Linked DNA regions of Homo sapiens: all the other regions are linked to region 1. The links are contacts of gene promoters, found by promoter capture Hi-C in blood cells and fetal thymus (Javierre and others, 2016). All regions are on one chromosome and are shown on one strand. The core of a region is centred on a gene start or on the middle of the fragment in contact, and the rest is flanking DNA. Distances in the headings are between cores, read along the strand shown.

What was found. The method cuts DNA at HindIII sites, captures the fragments that hold promoters and counts their contacts. A CHiCAGO score of 5 or more calls a contact.
Region 2: a contact is called between a fragment that was not itself captured here and the fragment with the promoter of MRPL17 in region 1, in 4 of 17 cell types (activated CD4 T cells, naive CD8 T cells, total CD4 T cells and 1 more). The highest score is 6.5, in activated CD4 T cells.
Region 3: a contact is called between a fragment that was not itself captured here and the fragment with the promoter of MRPL17 in region 1, in 2 of 17 cell types (naive CD8 T cells and non-activated CD4 T cells). The highest score is 6.5, in naive CD8 T cells.
Region 4: a contact is called between the fragment with the promoter of DNHD1 here and the fragment with the promoter of MRPL17 in region 1, in 2 of 17 cell types (neutrophils and total CD4 T cells). The highest score is 5.9, in neutrophils.
Region 5: a fragment that was not itself captured here is called in contact with the fragment with the promoter of MRPL17 in region 1 in 15 of 17 cell types (activated CD4 T cells, total CD8 T cells, monocytes and 12 more); the score reaches 11.7 in activated CD4 T cells.
Region 6: a fragment that was not itself captured here is called in contact with the fragment with the promoter of MRPL17 in region 1 in 5 of 17 cell types (activated CD4 T cells, M0 macrophages, non-activated CD4 T cells and 2 more); the score reaches 6.9 in activated CD4 T cells.

What each region holds. Positions count from the first base shown.
Region 1 is chr11:6,682,090-6,685,794 of GRCh38, forward strand. MRPL17 (mitochondrial ribosomal protein L17) reads right to left here and starts at 1,251. Exons shown (of 3, transcript NM_022061.4): 1 at 1,034-1,251; 2 at 658-726; 3 at 1-313. The coding sequence starts at 1,207. The coding sequence ends at 29. RefSeq lists enhancers at 793-1,555, 972-1,411. The HindIII fragment of the contact is 17,410 bases long and covers 1-3,705 here.
Region 2 is chr11:6,441,518-6,445,222 of GRCh38, forward strand. No RefSeq gene overlaps it. Among named protein-coding and RNA genes, the nearest start is that of HPX, 2.4 kb to the left of the region's middle. RefSeq lists an enhancer at 1,838-1,907. The HindIII fragment of the contact is 602 bases long and covers 1,447-2,048 here.
Region 3 is chr11:6,476,275-6,479,979 of GRCh38, forward strand. It overlaps ARFIP2 (ARF interacting protein 2), which reads right to left. Exons shown (of 8, transcript NM_001376558.2): 3 at 3,698-3,705; 4 at 2,866-2,984; 5 at 2,464-2,685; 6 at 1,767-1,924; 7 at 1,444-1,618; 8 at 245-994. The coding sequence ends at 839. Among named protein-coding and RNA genes, the nearest start is that of ARFIP2, 3.2 kb to the right of the region's middle. The HindIII fragment of the contact is 3,327 bases long and covers 61-3,387 here.
Region 4 is chr11:6,495,808-6,499,512 of GRCh38, forward strand. DNHD1 (dynein heavy chain domain 1) reads left to right here and starts at 1,473. Exons shown (of 43, transcript NM_144666.3): 1 at 1,473-1,524; 2 at 1,778-1,860; 3 at 1,964-3,154. The coding sequence starts at 2,409. The HindIII fragment of the contact is 5,087 bases long and covers 1-3,410 here.
Region 5 is chr11:6,531,426-6,535,130 of GRCh38, forward strand. It overlaps DNHD1 (dynein heavy chain domain 1), which reads left to right. Exons shown (of 43, transcript NM_144666.3): 13 at 1,602-1,759; 14 at 2,256-2,748. Among named protein-coding and RNA genes, the nearest start is that of DNHD1, 36 kb to the left of the region's middle. The HindIII fragment of the contact is 4,335 bases long and covers 1-3,705 here.
Region 6 is chr11:6,550,402-6,554,106 of GRCh38, forward strand. The region is part of intron 24 of DNHD1 (dynein heavy chain domain 1); the gene reads left to right. Among named protein-coding and RNA genes, the nearest start is that of RRP8, 51 kb to the right of the region's middle. The HindIII fragment of the contact is 1,501 bases long and covers 962-2,462 here.

The sequences.
Region 1 (3,705 bases), core at 1-2,500:
TTAAGGGCTGCAGACTCTTCAGATCCAGTTAAATCCCTGGTGTTTGAGCTGTGTGGGAGCTGTGGTTGCTTGCTTCCTGGCTTTGCCTGAGGTCCTGCCGCAAACCCTGCAGCAGCTGGTTTAGGAGTGTAAGGTGGCTGTCTCTGCGAGGCAGAGGCAGGGGTGGGAGGCAATTCCCTTTATACTCGATCACTGCCATCTTGGCCCGATCCAAACTCCGATTTGGGATCTGCAGCATTCTTGTGTAGCCCCCAGTTTGATCTTTGTACCGAGGGGCCAGTACTTGAAACAGCTTTGGGATCAAATCCTTCTCCTAGAGGGAGAATTATCCAAGAGACAGCAGAGTCAGGCAAAACTGCAGAGGCATTTAACTTTACACCATTCCCAAAGGTAAGGTCCATCCACACATAGAAAGACCTCCCCCTCCCCTCGCCAATCTGGCATAGTCAGTGTTACACAAAGGGGTCGTTTATAGGCAGTTGTGCAGAGGTATATTCACATCGACTTCAACTAACTTAAGACACAGTTTCTAATTTAGTTAGCAGCACTGGCCCATAAGTGAGTACCCAAGTTTAATTCTGCATAGTTCTCCTTTTTCCAACCCCCACCCCCAGGGAGCAAAGGGTGGGATTTTGAAGGCAGATAGGTCGCACTCACTGTGAGCCAGAAGTCAGCCATGCGCATGGCTCGTTCGTTAGTGTCTCCCAGCTTCCCATAGTCGATGAGCTGTGAGGACATAACATCACGGATCCAACCGAGCAAGAAAACAAGGTGCCAATCTAATTTCTCTAATGCCGGAAGGCAATCCATTCTTTCCACTAGCCAAGCATCTCCAATCTACGCCACCCCTAACTCCGCAGCCCTAACCAGTCTTCCATTAGAGGCGATGGAGGGGCGGGTTCAGCCCAAGGTTCTGGGGGACTCAGACTTGGGGAATGGTTTACCAGGTTGGTCCCGGTCCCTTTCCACTTGCAGCCGGCTCCGCCCCCTCAGACCAGACCCGCAGAGTGGACAAGAGGGCCGCGCTCCTCACCTTCTCCGCGTAGCCCCTCATTTCGTCCACACGCGCCCATGGTGCCTCGATGCGTTCGTGCCGCACCAGCCCTGTGAGCAAGTTCCGCAACAGATGGATGCGGGACTCGGGACCGAGGCCCATACGGCGAAATACGCGGCCATGGGAGATCGCTGCAGCGACCGACAGCCGCATGTTTCCAACTTCTGCCCGCCCCTTGGAGGCCGGAACTGGAAACTGGAAGGTAGAGCCGGTGGCGGCAATTTCAGGGAACGCATGCGCCTTAGCTCGGAGCGTGGTGAACGTGTTTGCGCATGCGCATCAGAGCCTGCCTCGTTGGCAATCTCGGGAAGGGCGGAGAAACGGTGTTGAGCTTTTCCAGAGGCGGCGAGCTGGGCGGGCTTCAGGCATCCAGAGCGCTCTGTGGCGGCCGAAGAACCAGGCGCCCCCTAGTGTGGGATAAGCGGGCCATCGGGTTTTTTTTGGGGCTGCGTCAGCCAGTGGCATTTAGGGCGATGGGGCGCTCCGCCGCGGAGACTCCTGGGAAAGAGAGCGTCTGAAGAGAAAGGCACCCGGAGGGTTCGGGGTCCTGCGGGCTGACGGCCCTACCGGGTCCAGCAGTGGCCAGCTGGCCTGGTTGACACCTGTACGCATTGTTTTTAACACAGTGATTTTCAGTAGTAATGGTGAGATGGATAATAACGATGCCCGGAAAAGAAACGCAGATAGTGAAATTTTTCTTTTATTGAAGTAATCACTCCAGTTAAAAAAATTACAGCACTAAAGGGAAAAGTAGTAGATTGTTTTTAATTACACCAGTGTGTCTTTTTAAGGGGAAAAAACATACCTACACATTTATGTGTTAATGAACAATAATATTATAGTTTGTTTTTGAGCCTTAACATCTGCAAATTGGCAATGACTGTCAAAATTATTCCTTGTTATGGGTTGAATTGTGTCTTCCCCATGATTCTTCCCGTCCCCAAAAAGCTATGTTAAGTCCTAACCTGCAGTAACTCAGAATGTGACCTTATGTGGAAATAGGGTCATTGCAGATGTCATTTGTTAAGATGAAGTCATGCAGGCATAGGTGGGCGCCTAATCCAAAATGCCTAGTGTCTAGCTAGCTAGATAGATAGACACATATATACGTACATACATATATGCAGGCCGGGCACGGTGGCTCACTCCTGTAATTCCAGCACTTTGGGAGGCCGAGGCGGGCGGATCACCTGAGGTCAGGAATTCGAGACCAGCCTGGCCAACATGGCGAAACCCCGTCTCTACTAAAAACACAAAAATTAGCCGGGCGTGGTGGCTCATGCCTGTAATTCTAGCTACTCGGGAGGCTGAGGCAGGAGAATAGCTTGAACCCGGGAGGTGGAGGTTGCAGTGAGCTGAGATCGGGCACTGCACTCTAGACTGGGCGACAGAGTGAGGCTCTATCTCAAAAAAAAAAAAAAAAAAAATGCGCATGAAGAGAGAGAGATGGACACAGGGTGATGCTGACCAGGTAAAGACAGAGACATACAGGCAGAAAGCCATGTGACCTTGAAAGCAGAGATTATGGAGTCAAGCAGTTGCAAATCAATGAATGAACACCAAGGATTGCTGGAGCACACCTGAAGCCAAGGGAAAGGTATAAAACGCATTCTTTTTCAGATCTGTCAGAGAGCATGACCCTGCTGCTAACACATCGCTTTCTTACTTCTAGCCTCCAGAGCCACAAAACAATAAATTTCTGTTGTTTTAAGTTCCACAGTTTGTGATAGTTTGTTACAGCAGTCTTAGGAAATGAATTCACTCCTCTTTACATGTACATATTCAGTAGACGTATAGATTTGTCACTTTGTCAGCTTATAGGTGACCAAAGAACACTTCTTTGCTAATTTTAATTTTGAAAAGTTTCTTTAATATGAAGGAACAAATATGCAAATAGGAAAAGTCATGAACATATAAATACATTGACAGATTTATACAAATCACACTTCACAATTAAAGAAATTTACAATAAATTACAGAAATTACAATTACCATTCATGTTTTGTTTCTTTGGGAGCAATTCTTGTAGTTTTCAATTGTCTTTGCAGTTGAAAAATTTCACTAAGATGTTTTCACCAGGATATATATATATTTTTTTGAGACGGAGTTTCTTTCTTGTTGCCCAGGCTGGAGTGCAATGGTGCGGTCTCGGCTCACTGCAACCTCCACCTCCTGGGTTCAAGCGATTCTCATGCCTCAGCCTCACAAGTAACTGGGATTACAGGCGCCCACCACCATGCCTGGCTAATTTTTTTTGTATTTTTAGTAGAGACGGGGTTTCACCATGTTGGCCGGGCTGGTCTCGAACTCCTGACCTCAGGTGATCTGCCCGCCTCAGCCTCCCAAAGTGCTGGGATTACAGGTGTGAGCCACTGTGCCCGGCCCACCAGAAAATTTATCATAAATTTCTATTGGTAAAAACTTGTGAAGAGGTTCTTCTTCAGCAAAAATTAGGTGAAATGAAACATTGATCCATTGTCTTAGAAAATGCTTACACTTGGTAAAAACAATTGTAGCATCAAACACTGTCCTTTTGACTTTTTCTGGCAATACAAGACCGTCATCTCTTGTCTCTTCTGGTAGTCTTCAAAATTTGATTCTTTTTTATATGTCAATTTCCTTACATTTTGTTTTTGCAGCATTACTACTGG
Region 2 (3,705 bases), core at 498-2,997, 240 kb before region 1:
AGCTTTACCCTTGGGCTAGTGAGTCTGGGGACAATAATGTCTCACTGTTGTCAAATGTCCAAGCCCCATGCCCAGCCTCTCGCCTTCCCTGACTGGCAAAGGGCTTTGCAAAAAGTGCCTGGAAGTGAAGGGTTGACAGTAATGAGGCAGAAACAGGAGGTGTCTCTCTTCCAGAGAGCACCACCACTACTAGTAATTAGTCTTTCTTGGTAGTTTCCACCTTGGGGGAAAAAGCTTTATTTAACCAACCCAGAACAAATAGAACTGTAACTGGAATTTCACAATATTTCTAGCTGACTCCTGCTTAAATGCTACCTTCTCAATGAAGCCTTTCTTGACCACCTTATCTAGCCATTTCAGACCCTTGCTTGTTTTATTTTACTTACTAAAACTTGAAATTCTTTCATCTGTCTACTTATCTGGTGATGGTTGTTGTTGCTTTGCTTTGTTTTGCCTGTCTTGTTTACCATTATATATCCCTGACTCCTAAAATAGTGCCTGGCATATAAGAGTTGTTCCAGAAATATTTGTTGAATGAAAAAAATGCAAAAATGCATTTCAAGTACTGAGTAGTGTTGCTAGTGTTGCAGCCAAATTTCTGACAATTTCCCCCCCTCTAGGGTAGGAGAATATTAGGAATTGGGGGTAGGTTATGGTAGTAGGCATAATGAGATCTAGGAGTCACAGACGCCCTTTATCTGACAGTCCTGTTTCTCTCTCCAGTGTCTCGGCCCCACATCCATCTCTTCCTGGGATCTCACCTGCTATCCTCAGTACTTCCTGGGCCCACTCCCAAAGCTGCCCCATTTCTGTGTGAGATTTGCCTAGTGAGTCAGAAAAGAATTATGGGCAGACTCAGCTATGGGCCAGGATGAAGTTCCAGGACCCCTGCTCCCTAGCCAAGGCTGAAAGGGCCCTGATCCCTCACAGATGGCTCCAGACCCCTGACAGTCCCATATATAATCTTACCAAAAGTCTCAGATCCCTTTTCTACTCTGCGAAGTTTCCTTCCAACAGGAAAACACACATTCCGGAACCTCTGGAACAACATGTCACCAGGCCTCTGCCATCAGGCTCAATGTCCTCTCCTGACTTACGAATGAAAATGTGCTGTGAACATCATTCCCTCCTCATAGGTCAGTGGGCAAGGCTGGACTCTCTGAGTCCTTGGCAGCCTGGGCAATGCCATCGCTGCTACAGCCAATGTCTCATACTCACCTTCTCCCCATTGCAGGGCATGTCTTCTTTCTGGGTGTTGGGCAATGGGAGCCACTATTCTAAGACTCCCCCTCACCTTTTCTTTCCCTCTCAGCCTCTGAAACCTTATATTCTCCCTCCTGAGCACCCCATGATCCTCCATCAGGAATTTCCTCAACAACTTGTCTTCAGCTGTCAGAACCCTGTCTGAATCCTACAGATTTTGCTGGGCCTGCCTGGGGAGAGGGAAGCTTTCACCCCAAGAAACAAACACCCCACAGAAAACCCATAGTGAGAGTCTTCAATAGTCCTATTAGCAGGGCCTTGCACTGACTTGCCAGTCCAAGGGTGCAGTCTCCTTCTGGCCTAACAGGGCTGTCTGAGGGCATACAGCACATATACTGGATGATCATTTTTCAGCTTGACCCCTTCCCCACACACCTGGTGTGGTCCCCCTCACAGCACCCCGGATCCATCTATCCCAGAATACTACTTTATGGTCCCTTTTCCCTGTTGCTTCCTAATTCACCTGTGTACCCGAGAATGGCTTAGAAACCATTACTGGATCCTCCTGCTCCACCCAGGGACTAGGCCAGCAGAGTCATCTGCACTGCAGGCAGTCCAGGTTGAAGTTCAAGTTTTGGGCAGGAGTTGAAAGTAGAACATTGTACACATTTGGGAACCCAGGGCTGTGGATATGTTGGCCACCCTGGTGTTGGTCACAGGGTACAAGCCAAGACTTCTCAGGGTAGTCAAGACTCAGCAGCCTTGCTTCTCTTCCCCTCACTACAGGAGGCCCCTTCTGTGGGTCCTGGGTCCTTCCCAGGCTTCCTACTGGGGCTGAGGAAAGAAGCTTGTCGGTACTTGGGCCTGAGCACCCCCTGCAGGCCGCAGGAATCAGTGCACTCCCGCCCTTCAACTAGAGGCCAGAGCCCAGGAGTTTTTCCTCTCTGAAACTAGCTCTCCACAGCCTTTGTCCCACACTCCTCTCAGCCCTGGCTGTGCATCCTTAGTGGTACACACCCTTCTATGCTTCTTTCCCTTCTTCTGCAAACCTTGCTGCCCAGAGTGGATTTGGGGACCTCAATCTCTTGCTTCTCTGGGAACTCGAGCCCAGAGAAATTCAACCATCTCTTTTCCTGGGTAGTCTTCTCTATCCTCCTAACCAGCAGCTTTTTTACTTCTCCCAGAAGGGGTCTGAACACGAACCTGCAAATGTCTGCAAATGACAGAGCTTCCTCCTGCATTGCCAAGAGCCAGATGTAAGCTGGACACTGACCCACTGTCCCTTGGAATGGCTATGTCTATGTCCAGCCTGCTCTGCTGTTGATATGAGTTCTCTGACCTTAGCCATTTCTCCTGGGCCCACTGAGTGCTAGGTGTGCTGGGCCTGAAGTCTGTGGCTGTATACTCCAGGGAGCAGGAACTGAATGTCTCCTTTCCTCAGGGGTAGGAGGCTTAGGGATAAAGCTCCAGGCAGCCAAAGAGCTTGCTGATCCCAGCTGACCCCTCCTCTTGCTCAGTCTATAATGGGCCTTAGTGCTATATATATATATATATAGCATGTATATAGCACTTGCTATGGTTTGAATGTTTCTGTCCCCTCCGAATTGATGTGTTGGAAGCTTAATTCCCAATGTGCCAGTGTTTGGAGGTGCGGCCTCATGAGAGGTGTTTAGGTCATGAGAGCTCTGCCCGATGAATGGATTAATGCTGCTATAAAAAGGGCTTTCAGAAGTGGATTCTCTCTCCTCTGCTTTTCTGCCACGTGATGAACAGCATTTGTCTCCTCTAGAGGATGCAGCGTTCAAAATGCCATCATAGAAGCAGAGACCAGGACCTCACCACACACCAAACCTGCTGGGCACCTTAATCTTGGACTTCCCAGCCTCCAGAACTGTGAGAAATACATTTTTGTTCATTATAAATCATCAGTCATGGGCATTTTGTTATAGCAGCACAAACAGACAAAGGTAGCACTATGAGTCCCGTTTTATGAATGAGGAAGCCAATATTAGGTATCTTAGCCAAATCACATTGCTAGCAAGTGGCAGAGCCATGATTTAAACCCTGGGTGCCTGACTCCTAGGGGTGTGTTCCTACAAGGATAGTGTGTTCTTATCAAGGGGTTCGCTGGCAAATATTTAACAACTGCTCTCTAGGGGGAAAAAGCACTGATTTGTAACATTTGCAGATTTTTGTGATATAAATACTCCTACCATGGCCAACTTTAAGCTACCGACAAGACATCACCAAATGTAGAGTTGGGAAGGGATGTACAGTAACACACTGCATACAATATTCCTACCATACAGATATGATAGATATAAATAATCACAAGAGCACAGGGGATAGTAAAATGTAGTAAAATAATTAGGAAGTGATTACTTTTAAGTACTGATTATCTTTGGTTTTAATAGAATGTATTTAAGTTTATATAGTTTGATTTTTAATAATAGCTGTGTTTTAACAACCAGCTCTCAAAATTCTAAATTTGACAATCAGCTC
Region 3 (3,705 bases), core at 474-2,973, 210 kb before region 1:
CCCCCTCTGGATCTGGTGCTCTTAAGATCCATAGCTATCTTGGTGCTGGCTAAAGGACAAAGCTTTGGCTCCAACTGAGGCTGGGAGAGAAGACTGGGCCTTCAAACCATCTCTGAAACCTGTGACTTCAGCTGCCTGGCCCCAGCTCTTTTGACTTGATAGGGTTCTGGTGTTTGATTAGACTGAGCTTGTCTCCACCCAGGCCACCCTCCTAGAGTCCCCGACAAATTGACCTCGCTGGGCCTGCTTTTATGAAAGGTTTATTCCTAGTGCTAGATCCCAATCTTCTTGGGCTCTAAGCACAATTAAACTGGGTGGGTGGGTGAGGGTAGGCCTATTCAGATGCAAGGCCAGCAATGGGGCTCCCCATTATCCCCACCCCTTTGGTCCCAGTCCCCTTCTCTGCAATGGGCACGCATAGAGGAGAGACAAAGGGTATTAGACGCAACATCATTGGCCCAGGGGAGTCCGAGAAGAGCTGCCATTGGCTGACAGGGCATTTTCAGGCTCTGTCATTGGTCAGGGAGCACACCCCAGCCTGAAGAGTGATGCCATTGGCCAGGGAGTGGTTTTGTCATAGCCGTTGGCTGTGAAGTGGAAGGAAAAGATCTGGGAATGAAGCCCTGTGGCCAGGAAGATAGACAGGGCAGCAACTTCTGGGCCTCCAGGCCCTCTTCCCACCATAGCAATGTGGGCAAAACTGGTGTCAGGCCCCAGCCAGAAAAAGGAGCCCAAGCCAGAGGGCAAGTGACAAAGGATGTACCATGTCCAATCTCCCACACCCTGGGGCTGCCCTTCCCAATGTCTTTCTTGATAGCCAAGTTGGGCTGGGAGCAGCTCACTGCTCCTCTAGCCAGGAGGGTTTCTCAGCTCCTGGAGGCCGCAGCTTGATGTTGAACTGCTGCAGGGTCTGCTCCAGCTGTTTCTGGTTCCCAGCAAAGTAGGCGGACACAGCATTGTGGAAGAGCAGCAGCTGCTTGTGCATCACCTTGATCTGGGGGTCCAGCAGGGTCAGCTAAGGCTGGACTCAGGCGCCCTTCTTGAGGGTCTATGAGCCTGAGCCCAGGCACAGACCAGGGGCACAAGGACTCTGCTCTGATGGTGCTTTTGGGGTAGGGGCTGAACTCTACCCAGGGAGTCAAAGGAGAAGGGTCAGTATGATGGAAGAAACCTCACTGGATTTGTGGGCCTAGGGTTTTTGTACCCCAGCTCAGGGGGTGATTTTTCCCAGTTATGTTCCTGGGACCAGCAGCCAAATCCTCCAACAGGAAAGGGCCAGGAATTGGAGGGAGGGTGATCTGGAAAGGCCCAGGGGTTGAGGGGGTGAACACTCTACTCCCCAGCTAGGCTGCATTTCCTCATTCAATAATGGGGAGGGTCTGAGGGGAAGGTTAGTGTTACAGATGGAAAGGTGGGCTAGGGTCAAGGGGGTGGGGTTGGCACCTTGTTTTCTTCCAGGAACTTGAGCTTGATGGCCACATCTCCCCGCAGCTTCTCATACTTGTCCCGATGGGCCTGGAAAGTGGCCTGGGCACTCTCAAGTCGACCACGTGTCCCTGCATCCCGGGGGCCTAGACTCAGCTCCTCTAAGTCTGTTCGGTAGGCATCATATTCCAGCCTGGGGAGGGGGTGATAAAGGCTGGTCTCCACTCCTTTATCCTCAACACATACTCTCCTTTCCTTCCTGAATTCTTATGCCCCTAATGCCCAAATTTCCACCCATACCAGCCAACTCCCCAAACCCTAAGCCCTGCCAGTGCCCACACCTGGCAGCCTCATACTGTTTCACAGTCATGAGCGTGTCTTCCATGGTCTTGGTGACCAATGTGTTGATGCTAGAGACAAAGAAGTTCACGGCTCCTAGCAGCGTTTCCCCATTCTTGCATAGTAGTTTCTGTGTCTCTGCATTGTAGCCAAATTCCTCCTGAGGGCAGAAGGGAGGAACAGACCTTGAATAACACTCCCTACCTGACTGAAGCTGTAGAGCCCTTCATTCCCCTCCTCCCCGGGGAGGACACAGCCAGCAAAACTGGAACAACCAAGGACTGCCTCCAGCAAGGCTCTCTTAGCCGGAAAGTTAGTGGGATCACCCTGGGGATACCTGGGGTAGGAATGTGGGTGGTGGGCATTCTTGGGTAAGTTCACAAGACTGGAACAGTCTGAGAGCTAGTGTGGCAAGCAGGGGAGGGGCTCTGATTAGGCTGAGCACGAAGGCATTCTCCCCAGTGCAGAGAGGGGTTATTTGTGAGGCACCTAGTGTGCCCCCTCCCCCACCCCCTCCAACTTCTGGACCTCTGTACAAACCCTTAGGCTGCCTCCACAGGTGAGTGCTGCTGGGGGTAGGGCTGGGCCCACCCTGAAGGGGTTCTCCCTGTGGGCTGCAGGAGGGAGGGAGGATGAGGAATGACTGCCTGGGAGGGCCCATGCCCAGTTCCCCCACCCTCTTTGGTCTGGGTGAGGCACCTGAAGCTCTGGGGACTTCTGGCTGAGGTCAGCAAAGGCATCACCCAGTGCATGCTGGGTCTGCAGCAGGCTGTAGAGGTGGGCTGTCAGTGCCCGGCCCAGCTGCAGGACACTCTCATACTTGCGCTTCGTCTCACGCAGCAACTCAATCTGCAGCTCTAGCTCCAGGTCCACAGTCCGTGAGCCTCGACCAAATCGTTCTGATAACAGTTGCTTTGTGCACTGATTGGGAAATGGGGGAATAAATCAGAGACCCTAACAGCCTCCCCACACAACAGGTATCTACCCCAGCACCCCCCAGGCTCCTACTCTCAGCCACAGATGGGATATTACGATCACGAAGAAAAGGGAAAAAGGTACCCATAAGGAGTTTTGGGGAAGGGAGAGGTGCTTAAATCCTACCTTATAGGTGTTGATGCCCCATTTCTTGACGATGTCAAACTTTTCTCCAGCAATGCCCCGAGCCACCTCATCTCCAGGGCCAGAAGGAGTGGTGCTGTGAGATGGATGGCGGCCAGACCCTAAAGGATCAAGTTCTCTGACACCAGCCTCTCTCAGATACACCAGACACCTCTGTGGCCCCACCCATACTTCTCTTCGAGCACATGAAATTGACTTCCCTGAAGGAGATGCTAGAGACAACTGGATGCTCCTGCTTACTAGGAGGAACTCGGACTTTGCGCGGTGAGAACCAAATCCTGATATACATATGGCCTCCTTGGGGGTTAGAGGAGGGGTTTGCAGGGAGTTGTTGGTGTACAGGGGCAGAGGAAACAGAAGAAAATACACTGAGTTTGGGGGCAGCAGGAGTCAAGGATGGTGGGTCATGATAACAAGAAACCTGGTTGCATTCCCATGTGGAATCTTAGTGTGAGATTCAGGGCTGTTTGTTCCTCTAAACTTTAGAATCTAAAAATTCTGAGAAGCTTCACAAAGTTCCAACTCAGCCTCAAGCTGTAGAGGGGGGGCATTCCTGTGAAGCAGGTCTTAACTTGACTCAGGTGGTGGCAGGGAAAGGACAAATGAGCCATTTCAGGGGCTAAGTGGCAAAAGGGAAATGGATGGACAACGCTGGGAGTTGCTTTTGGGCTGAGGAGAGTCCATGAGGTTCCTACAAGCAGAAGTTCCCAAGATCTCCAGACATAATTCAAGCTTTCCTAGACATATCCTATGCTTCCCCAAACCATTCCTGTCCCCTCCTCCACCCAAGATTCCTGTTTCTGAACATTCATACCTGTGGGG
Region 4 (3,705 bases), core at 223-2,722, 190 kb before region 1:
TGTGAAGAGAGAAGCCTACAGAGGTAGCAGGCAGTTATCAGCAATTTGTAGGCCATGATAGGACTTTGGCCTTCAGCTGAAGGAATTAGATGAGGGGGCATTAGTGAGCTATGAGCAGAGGAGTTATAGGATCTGCCTATATTTGAAAAGGATCACTGGCTGCTCTAAAAAGAATGGATTGTAGGGGCAATGGTGAGAAGCATGAGAAGGATCTGAGGCAAGGAGAACAGTTCAAAGGCTGTGGAAAAACCCAGGTGAGAAATGATAGCAGCTTAGACCAAGGTTGTAGTACTTAAGATGGTGGGAAATAGTTGGATTCTGGATATATTCTGAAGGCACAACCAGCAGAATTTCCTGAAGGATTACTTATGGAGGGAGGGGGAGAGAGAGAAAGAGAAAGGGAAAAAGAAGAGGGAAAGAGAAAGAAGGGGTTTGGAAGAGGTCTCAAAGCTGACTCCAAGGTTTTGGTGTGAGAAACCAGAAAGAATGGATTTGCCATTGACTGAGGTGGGAAAGACAGTGAAAGGAGCAGCATTTCTTTGGTGGGGAAAGGGTGGTTAGGAGCCTGCTTTTGGACATTTTAAGTTTGAGATACCTATAAGCTCTCCAGGTGGAGACATTAAGTAGGCAGTTGGATATACTAATCTGATTTCAGAGGAGAGGTGGGCTGAATTTCTTTTTTTATTTTAATCATCAACTTTTTTTTTTTTTTTTTTTTTTTTGAGATAGAGTCTCCCTCTGTCGCCCAGGCTGGAGTGCAGTGGCGCGATCTCTGCTCACTGCAAGCTCCGCCTCCTGGGTTCACGCCATTCTCCTGCCTCAGCCTCCCCAGTAGCTGGGACTACAGGCGCCCACCGCCACGCTCGGCTAATTTTTTTGTATTTTTAGTAGAGACAGGGTTTCACCGTGTTAGCCAGGATGGTCTCGATCTCCTGACCTCGTGATCCACCCGCCTCGGCCTCTCAAAATGCTGGGATTACAGGCATGAGCCACCGCGCCCGGCCTCATTCAACTTAATTTTTAAAAATTAGCCCCTCCATAAGCCCTTCCCCAAAAAATCCCCCTCCCCCCGTGCCAAATAGATGTTGAGCTCCTTGAGATCAAGGATTTTGTTTTATTCGGGCTTCTTTTGGGGAGGTGGGATAGGGTAGATGGATACGTTGGGGGTGGGGATGGGGGAGTACCAAAGACATACCAAAGACCTGGCACTAGTTTAGATACTCAGCGAATGGATATAAACACCTGCTTACGACACCCTCTGGATTGCTAGTCTCCCGAGTCAACCGTACTGCACGTGCAGTTCAGACCCCGCCTGGTCCTCTACAGGTCCCTGTCCCAGGCAAGCCTTAGCCCACAGGTTGAACCTAGTTCTGCCCCTCCAGGCTTGGGCTCTGCCCTCTCGGCCCCGCCCATATCGGACCCTGGCCCCTCCTCTTTCTGGCTCCCCCGGATGCTCCTGGCAAAGACTCGGTCCTTCTGGAATCTTGTAACGGTTCTAACAGCTGGGTGCGGGTGGAGCTGCGGGTGAGTCCTCGGCTCCGGATCCATTTCTCTTTGTTCCCTAGGACCCCCTCCCACAGAGTCCGCCTCCTCTTCCCCGCTCTCCCAGCCCCCTCCTTTGCCTGTTAACGTCTTCCCCTACCTGCATCCTGACCATCATTTGCTGTGCCTGCTCCTCGGCTTTCTGTCTTCACGACCTCCTTAGGCTGTGGGCGAAGACGTCATGGGACTGGGGCTCTGCTGCCTTCGAGTGACGACCTGTTAACCCGTTTTTCAGGCGATCGCCAGCTCGAGTGCAGATTCCTTGCTGTGACCGAGGTTCAGAGTGAGCTCTGTCGGTGTGTCAGTTTGCCTCTTCAGGTGATTGCACGTCTGTGTGCGAGTCTCTCCGTGTATGGGTGGCTATGATTAGGGTGAGCCTCAGACTGGAACTCAAGTCTAAGTTCATTCACTGCTCCAGCAGGCACTCTTCAATGAAACCTCATCAGCAGATCGGGCTCTCTTCCCTTGCCTTGCCTCCTAACCCCCCTAGGCCAGGTGAGGGGGACAGGGTACTGGGAGGTAAGAAGGAACTCTTCTGCAAGGAGGGCTCTCACGTCTGTCTTAGGCCTGCTCCTTACCAGAGTCTTTGGGGAAGCAGTAGGGAGGGCCTGAGGGTCTCAGGAAAGGCTCTCTGCTGGTCTGGCTCTGCTCTGTAGCTCCATCTATTTCCCTGTCCCAGGTCCTTTCTTCCTCCTAACCCCATTGACTCTGACCATCCCCTGCCCAGAGCCTGAGGTCCCTTCTCTGGCCCCTCTGCTGGGCTGGCCCATGCAGGTGAGGCCCCGCATCTGGCATCCTGGAACTGGCAGTTGGAGCCTGAGCTATGGGCAAGGTCACTTCGACAGCAGTTGAATGCCCAGCTCCTCATGGTCCCGGAGGAGAGGAGGGTAGGTTTGTCTTCTGATGAGACATCATCTGATTCCCTTAAGTCTTGGCACTCCATATGTGTCTTGGACAGCAAAGAACAGCCCTTGGCCTGCCAGCAGAAACAGAGGCAGTTCGTGAAGCCAGTGACTGAGTCAGAGCAGCCCACAGTGCTGGAACTCCTGCTAGCTGAGCTCCGAACTCTGTTCTCAGCTGTGTTGCAGGACAGTAGCCCTGCAGCTTGGCGCTATCTTCATGCAGTACTGGGTCTACTGCCTCCATATCGTGAGTTGCTAGTTGGCCACCTTGATTTGCTGCCCTTCCTGGAGCAGCTGTACTGCTGGGCACCCTGGGTCCAAACCCACCTCCATCTGGACCTGCTAGGTGCCATTGTCCAGGCCTTTCCTCCAGACAGCTCTTTGTTAGACAGTGCTTCCCATGCTGACTGCTGTCCCCAGAAGCGGAGGCTCCATCACAGGCCCCCATGCCCAGCTTGCCCTTTTGTGCAGGCCCAGTGGAGCAGGCAGCAAGTAAAGGAGGAGCTGGCCACCTGGCTGCGACCATTGACACTGCCTGAGCTACAGCGCTGCCTGGGCATTGTTGGTGCTCAGGTGGCCCTAGAAGAGGCTGTGTGGCTGGATGGACTTAGTCTCCTTCCCTTGGCACTGGCAGCGGACATCCCTGTACGGTATGAAAGCAGTGACACTGACAATGCAGAGGTGGAGCCTGTTGGAAGAAAAGAGACCAGGTAAGTGAGGGACTCAGTCTAGGGCTTGAGCAGAGGAGAAAAAGTTGCTGTTTTATGGGTGCCTCTGGGGTCACTTGGAAGTTTAGATCCAGCTCTCTGTTTATCACAGGGATTAGCCCAACTCCACACAAAGCTAGTGTGAGGCTACTTTCCTCTTCCTTTTTCTCTGCAAAATAAACCCAGTGGTGTTAGTCTTAATCCCCATAGAGAAATACAGAAATTAATGAAAATCAGAAGTCAGCTATGAGGCAGCCAAAGCTTTAGAATAACAGCTTGACTTTTCAGTTTCCAGGTTTTTTTCTTAGATGATGTCAGAAGTCTCCTTAATTATTTTTCTATAATTCATTCATAATCACTGAACATTGCCTGGGCCTACTGTGAGTTGATTCCTGGATGTTGGGTCTTTCCCTCAAGGTACCCCTGGGGAATGTGTGTCCGAGTGTCCTTCCCACATGTCTATGTGACTTAAACCGGCTCCAAGGCAGAGTGGAGTTGGCAGCACTACTGGATAGAATTTCATTTTGACCCTTCCAGAGTCTTCTTCTTGCCCT
Region 5 (3,705 bases), core at 339-2,838, 150 kb before region 1:
TTTTATCAATGCATTGCTCCTTTATACCATACGGTGTCACTGTTGAGCTCCCATCTGCCTTCATCTGCCTGTTGCTACTGGTCCAAAAGCAGCACCATAAACAAACAAACAAACAAACAAGCAAACAAATGTGGCAGCATTGCAATGGCCTAGTTACTGTTATGTTCCAAAGGGACAGTGTGAAAAAGGATGAGTTTAGATCTTCATGTTCTGTTTGATATAGGTTGTCCCTCAATAGGCTTCCTCTCAGCAGGTTTTCTTATTATCAGGTCTTAGTACCCAGTCATCTTGGTTACTTCCTCCAAGTCTCTGAAAGTGACATACCCAGTATGTCTCAATTATCTGTCCCCCAAACTCACTATTTTACTTACTAGTTGCAGAGATGCTAATAGAGGATCGGTCAGTTTACTTTGCACATAACATAAAAAATATTTTTAAATACTTTTTATAAACATATATTTTTATGTTTACATTTATATTTATAACATAAACATGTTTATATTTAAAATATAATGAAGTGGAGCCATGCTGCCTGAGTCTGAATCCTTGCTCTGCCACTGTGTGATGTTGATCAAGTGACATAACCTCTCTGAGCTTCAGTTTGCTTATCTGTAAAATAATAGTATTTACTTCAAAGGGAATTTGTGAGGATAAAATATAATTAAAGTACTTGAAATAGTGTCTGGTATGTAGAAAGCACTCTATACTCTATTTGGTGTACCATATTTCTATATTGTATTTTTCCTATTCTGTGCATATTTTAACATCTCTGAACTTTAAAGGTGTCTCATGATTGAAGATGTGTTAGAGTTTAGATGGCATCAGTTTTTTTTCTTTGTTAGTGGTATATAAAATAATGGTGCTTCTTACAACGGGATCTTAGATTTTATGAGGTATCATATGGGTGTTATCCCTGCCCTCTGAGATAATAAAGTTGTTCATACTGCCAAGGGCAGCTTCCAGGATTACTTTCTAGCCCCTTATCCACCTGAGACTTTCTTTACTTTAATCCTTAAAAACAAAAGGCAGATCATACTACCTTCTTGGTCCCCTTCTTCTAGAGCAAGGGCAGTAAGACTCCAAAACCAGAATACTTTTATGTCTGCTAGGATACTCTGCTATTCACAAACATGTCATTTCCATACTGTTGCACACACTGTTTCATCTTTTTGGAGAATTAATACTCAACACATCCAACTCCAGTGTTCCCTTCTCTGAAGGGGCCTTGCCCAGCCTTCTCAGGATACCCCCCGGCACCCCCACCTCTTAGCTATACTGGCTGAAGGCTCCAGGCACTCACAGTGGATTTATCACACTGATTTGTGATTGCTCATTTGTATGTCTGTCTCTGCCTCATATTGTGAGCTTTTCAGGGTGGGGAAACTTTCTGTCTCATTCATTTGCTCTCGTCTACCAGTATAGAGCACAGTCCCCAGTGCATAGCAGCTGACTGGACATTGAGCAGGGATTCAACAAGCATTAAATGAGATAATTCATGGTCTGACCTGCCATTCAGCCTACTCCCACTCTGGACCACAGCACTGTCCCCAGCACCCCTTCTTTTTTATGCGTCCCCTCACACCTTACTCTCCTGTCTCCAGAATCCAAGCTGAACAGCATAAGGAAGGACATTCTTGCACACGTGCAAAATGAGTGCTGGAACCTCAGTCAACAACTCATGACAGAGCTCACAGATTTCATGCATATCTTCCGAACCATCAACTCAGATATTCATGCCATTGCACAGTGCACCCAGAAGGTGGGCTCTCCCCATCCATCCTTCCCAGTTTATTCAGGGCCCATCCTGCTCAAAAGCTCAGCACACTCTCTTCAGGTCTCTGCTGAGCCCCCAGCAGAGCTTGATGCTCTTAAACTGTGCTCGCCTAAGAGATCTACCCTTGCTAATTCTTACCCTGTCCATGTGGCCCTCAGGTTCCTCATGTCACAGGGAGGCCCTGGTGTGATGAGAGAGTTGTGCTCTCTGTGACAGTCAGATAGAAAATTGTTGCCTTGTCATCAAGGTAATGGGGTGGTGGGTGAGAAGTGGACCCTTCACCAGAGAGATCTGGGTCAGAGAGAGATTTGATCCCTCTGGAGAGATCCCTCAGGAGAGATTGCCCCTGATTCCAGTTGATTACAAGGCTGCAACTGGGTCTGGAGACTTCACTCCAAAAGGTGGGAGTTCCCCTTGGGGATGGGACCAAAGAGGTACATGGGGTTGTGGGGCTGCCGGTCTCATGCTGTAATTCCTGCAGTTGAATGAAGCCAATGAACAGTACGTCGAGCTGGAGGAGCGAATGGAATACGTACGGGCACTCCACGAACTCATCCGCAACCACTTTAGCCTCTTTAGTGCTGAGAATGAAGCACTGGACATCTCGGTGAGAAGGCAATTCGGGGAGTCACCCATCCCTCCCTGCCCTCCTCCCCCACAACCACATCTACTCCACTGCCCTCTGCTTGCCCCACAGCTTCTGGATATGTGGGAGGCATTTCAGTTTGAGAAAAGCCAGGCTTCAGAGTTCCTGCTCAGCAAGCGACATGCCATTATGCCCAAGCTGCAGCAGCTGATGGCAGCAGCATTGGCAGAGCTGGAAGGCCTGCTTGCGAAGGCCCTCTCCGGTCCCTTTATGGACCCCACACAAGATCAGAGGAGTACTGAGCACCAGCTCGTCTCCCTAGAGCGTCAGTTCCAGAACACAGTCAGCGACCTCAGTGAACTGCACCACGCCTATGCCATCTTCACTGGTACTGAGGATCCCTGCACCCTCCATTATCACTCTGTGATAGACCCTTCAACTGAAGTAAGAGTTGGAACTCAGGGTTCTGTGTCCTGTATGACCCCAAGCAAGCCTTGGGAATCACACACCTTCACTGGTGTCTTTTATAAATGAAAATTTCAGGACAAAAACATCATATATTGACCATGGCAGGTGTTGTGCTTAGGGTGGGGGTATGGGGGCTCACAGTCTGGTAAGGAAGGCAAACAAGTGAATGTTCCATCAGAATGTGATGGGGTCAGGGGCTAAAAGCATGTGTGGGAGAAATGTAAGTTCTCCTTATAGAACGTAGCCTTTTTGTAGCCCTGTTCAACACAGTCCTACACCAGGCAGCAGGCCCCGAACAAGAGTAGGTCTTGATGCTCTAGCAGATCACTTCCTCCAGCCAGTGTGGTATAGAGAGGAGGCTACTGAGGGCCTCACTAATACACAGGAGGAGGCCAGGACAGAACTATTGGTCTCAATTCTTTCATACAGTGGTGCAGGTAAGCTGGTTCCCTTCTGTTCTTAAAGAACTCTGTGGGCTCTGGAAGGAGACCAGAGCAAATATAAGAGCCATTACCAAACAATGGAGACAGGATCTCAGGCTAGAGTGCAGTGTCATGATCACAGCTCACTGCAGCCTCAGCCTCCCAGGCTCAAGCAATCCTCCCATCTCAGCCTCCTGAGTAGCTGGGACTACAGGTGTGTGCCACCATGCCTGGCTAATTTTTGTATTTTTTGTAGAGATGAGGACTCACTTTGTTGCTCAGGCTGGTCTTGAACTCCTGGACTCAGGCAGTCCTTCTGCCACAGCCTCCCAAAGCACTGGGATTACAGGTGTAAGCCACTGCGCCTGGCCTTCCTTCCAGAATTCTTATATGTATGTTGGATTTACTGAATCTCTCTCACTCATTGCTTTTATCTTCTTTATCATCAGTCATTC
Region 6 (3,705 bases), core at 462-2,961, 130 kb before region 1:
TCAGCTGAGAAGAGACTTCAGCAACATTGTAGAGTGAAGAATATTACTGCTGGCAGAATGTAAAAGGTGTCCTTGAGTGACAACCACCAGAACATCCAGTATAAAATAAAAAATAAATAGACATGCCAACAAAAACCCCCAGAAAATAATGTGACCTGCTGTCAAGAAGAAGCAAGCAATAGAATAGAAACTGACCCTGAGATCTATATAGCTGTACGCTGTCCAAAAGATGCACTTTAAATATAAAAACACAGATAGATTAAAAGAAGTTTTTAATGCAAAATATTTACTACAGAAATAGTTTGCATAAGGAAGTTGATGTGGCAATATTAATACCAAAGCACTTTAAGACAAAGGATATTACCAGAGATAGAAAAGGACATCTCATAATTGAAAGATTCAACTCATCAGAAAGACAAAAGTCTTAAATGTGTCCACACCTAAAATAGACATTTAAGTATAGGGAAAAAAAGCCAATAGAAACAAAAGAGACATAGTAAATCTGAAATCATATTAAGAAATTAATATGCCTCTCACAATAACTGATAAGACAAGGAGCAAGAAAGTAGGGACATTAAAGATCTGAATAACACTAGCAACACACTGACATTTACAAAACATTATACTCACCAACTGCAAAATGCACCTTCTTTTCAAATGCACATGAAACATTCACCAAGATAGACCATATGCTGGGTTACAAAATAAGTCTCAACAAATTTCAAAGGATTAACATTTTAAATAATATTTTATCTGACCATAACAATACAAATATTGATAAGATGCCTAGAGAATTTCCAAATTCTTTAAAATTAACACACTTCTAAATAATGTACCAAAAAAGAAATTACAAGAGAAATTAGAGAATGTTTTGAACTAAATAATAATGAAAACAAAACATATCAAAATTTGTGAGATGCAACTAAAGGTTATAGCTTTAAATATCTATCTTAGAGAGAAAAGCTTGGAATCAATGACCTAAATTTTCAGCTTAAGACTCTAGAAAAAGAAGAGCAAGTTATACCCAAAGCAATTAAAAGGAAATCAATAATAAAGAACAGAGCAGAAATCAGTGAAATAGAAAAACATACAAACAATGGAGAATATCAACAAAGCCATATTTTGTTTCTTTGAAAAAGATAAAATTGACAATCGCCTATTAACACAAATCAAGAAATGAAAAGGAAAACATAAATTTTGAATATCAGGAATGAAAGAGGTTTTATTAAAGATATTTAAAAGGATAAAAAGGGAGCCAGGGCCGGGCACTGTGGCTCACGCCTGTAATCCCGGCACTTTGGGAGGCCAAGGAGGGCAGATCACGAGGTCAGGAGATGGAGACCATCCTGGCCAACATGGTGAAACCCCGTCTCTACTAAAAATGCAAAAATTAGCTGGGCATGGTGGCATGTACCTGTAATCACAGCTACTCGGGAGGCTGAGGCAGGAGAATTGCTTGAACCAGGGAGGTGGAAGTTGCGGTGAGCTGAGATTTGCACCACTGCACTCCAGCCTGGTGACAGAGCGAGACTCCGTCTCCAAAAAAAAAAAGGGGAGCCAGGCATGGTGGCATGCACCTGTAATCCCAGCTACTAGGGAGGGAGGCTTAGGCAGGAGGATTTCTTAAGGCCAGGAGTTCAAGACCAGCCTGGGCAGCATAGTGGGACCCTCATTTAAAAAAAAAAGTTTTAAAAAATGGATAATAAGGGAAAATTATGAAAAACTTTATGCTAATAAATTTAGCAACTTAGGTGAAATGGATACATGCTGTATTAGTCTGTTTTCACACTGCAATAAAGAACTACTTGAGACTGGGTAATTCATAAAGAAAAGAGGGTTAGGCCAGGCATGGTGGCTCACGCCTGTAATCCCAGCACTTTGGGAGGCTGAGGCAGGTTGATCCCTTGAGGTCAGGAGTTTGAGACCAGCCTGGCCAACATGGTGAAACCCCATCTCTACTAAAAATACAAAAATTAGCTGGGTGTGGTGGGGGTCACCTGTAATCCCAACTACTTGGGAGGCTGAGGCAGGAGAATCGCTTGAACCTGGGAGGCAGAGGTTGCAACGAGCCAGGATCACGCCATTGCACTCCAGCCTGGGTGACAAGAGCAAAACTTCGTCCCAAAAAATATATATATATAAGTAGGTTTAATTGACTCACAGTTCCGCATGGATGGGGAGCCCTCAGGAAACTTAAAGTCGTGGCAAAAGGCGAAGGGGAGGCAAGGCACATCTTACATAGCAGTTGGCGGGGGCGGGGTGGGGTGAAGAGATGTACCATCAGAACTTATGAGAAATTGCTCACTATCATGAGAACAGCATGGGGGAAGCCGGCCCCGTGATCCACTCACCTCCCACCAGGTCCCTCCCTCAACATATGGGGATTACAATTCAAGACAAAATTTGGTTGGGGACACAGAGCCAAACCATATCACATGCCTTACAAAAACATAACTTGTCAAAGCTTGAACAAAAGAAGAAAAATAATAGAAAATGAACAGCCTCATACCTAAGAAAAGTTTGAATGCATAATAAATGTTTCCAGTCCCAGATGGTTATACAGTTGAATTATATCAAATATTTAGAAAAAAAGTACAACTTATATATACTTTTTCAGAAAATGGAGAATACTAAGCCATGATGAAGACATTTCAAGCAAAGAAATAAACTGTTATCTTTCATAAACCTAAATGCAAAAATAAATCCTCACTGAAATATTATTAAATAAAATTCAGCAACATACAAAAAGAATAATATCTTAAGACCAAACGGAGTCTATCCTGGGAAGGCAAAGCTGACTAAACATTGAAAAATCAATCAGTGTAGCTCACATTAACAGAATAAAGGAGCAAATGAGTAAGTAATATTAGTAGATAAAAATCACTTGACAAAATTCCAACACTATTCCATAACTCCCAGGAAACTAGGAATAGAAGATAACTTTCTCAATTTGATGAAAAGCATCTATTATACTTACAGCTAAATACATACTTAATGGTTAAATATTGAATACTGTCCCCCTAAAATCAGTTAAAAGGCAAGAACATACTCACTGCTTCTATTCAACACTGTACTGGAGACCACATCGACGCAATTAAGAAAAAGAAATAAAAGCTTTTAAAATTAGAAAAGACAAGTTAAAACTGTCTGTATTGGCATGTAATATGATTGTCTACATAGAGACCCCAAAGGAATATTTTTTTAAACCCCATAAAAAACTACTACAATAAATAAGTTAATTCATCAGGGTCACAGGATACAGAATCAATCCATTGAAATCATTTGTACTTCTATATCCTAGTAACAAAACATTGGAAATTGAAATTTTAAAATATCACTTAAAAGTCATTTAAAAGCATAAAATACTTAGGAATAAATTTAATTAAAAGCATTCAAGATCTGTACACTGAAAATGACTAAATATTGCTGAGATAGAGGAAATGTAAATAAATGGAGAAATATATGATGTTCATGGATCAGAAGAGTCAGTATCATTAAGGTCTTCATTCTCCCCCAAATGATCTATAGATTCAATGCAATGCCAAGCTAAATCTTAACAGATTTTTTTTTGGTAAGTTGACAGTCTTATTCTGAAACTTATATAGCAATGCAAAAGATCTAGAGCAGCCAAGCAACTTTGAAAAAGAACAAAGTTGGGACACCTACACTAGTGATGTTAAAACTTGCTATACAGTTGTTGTAATG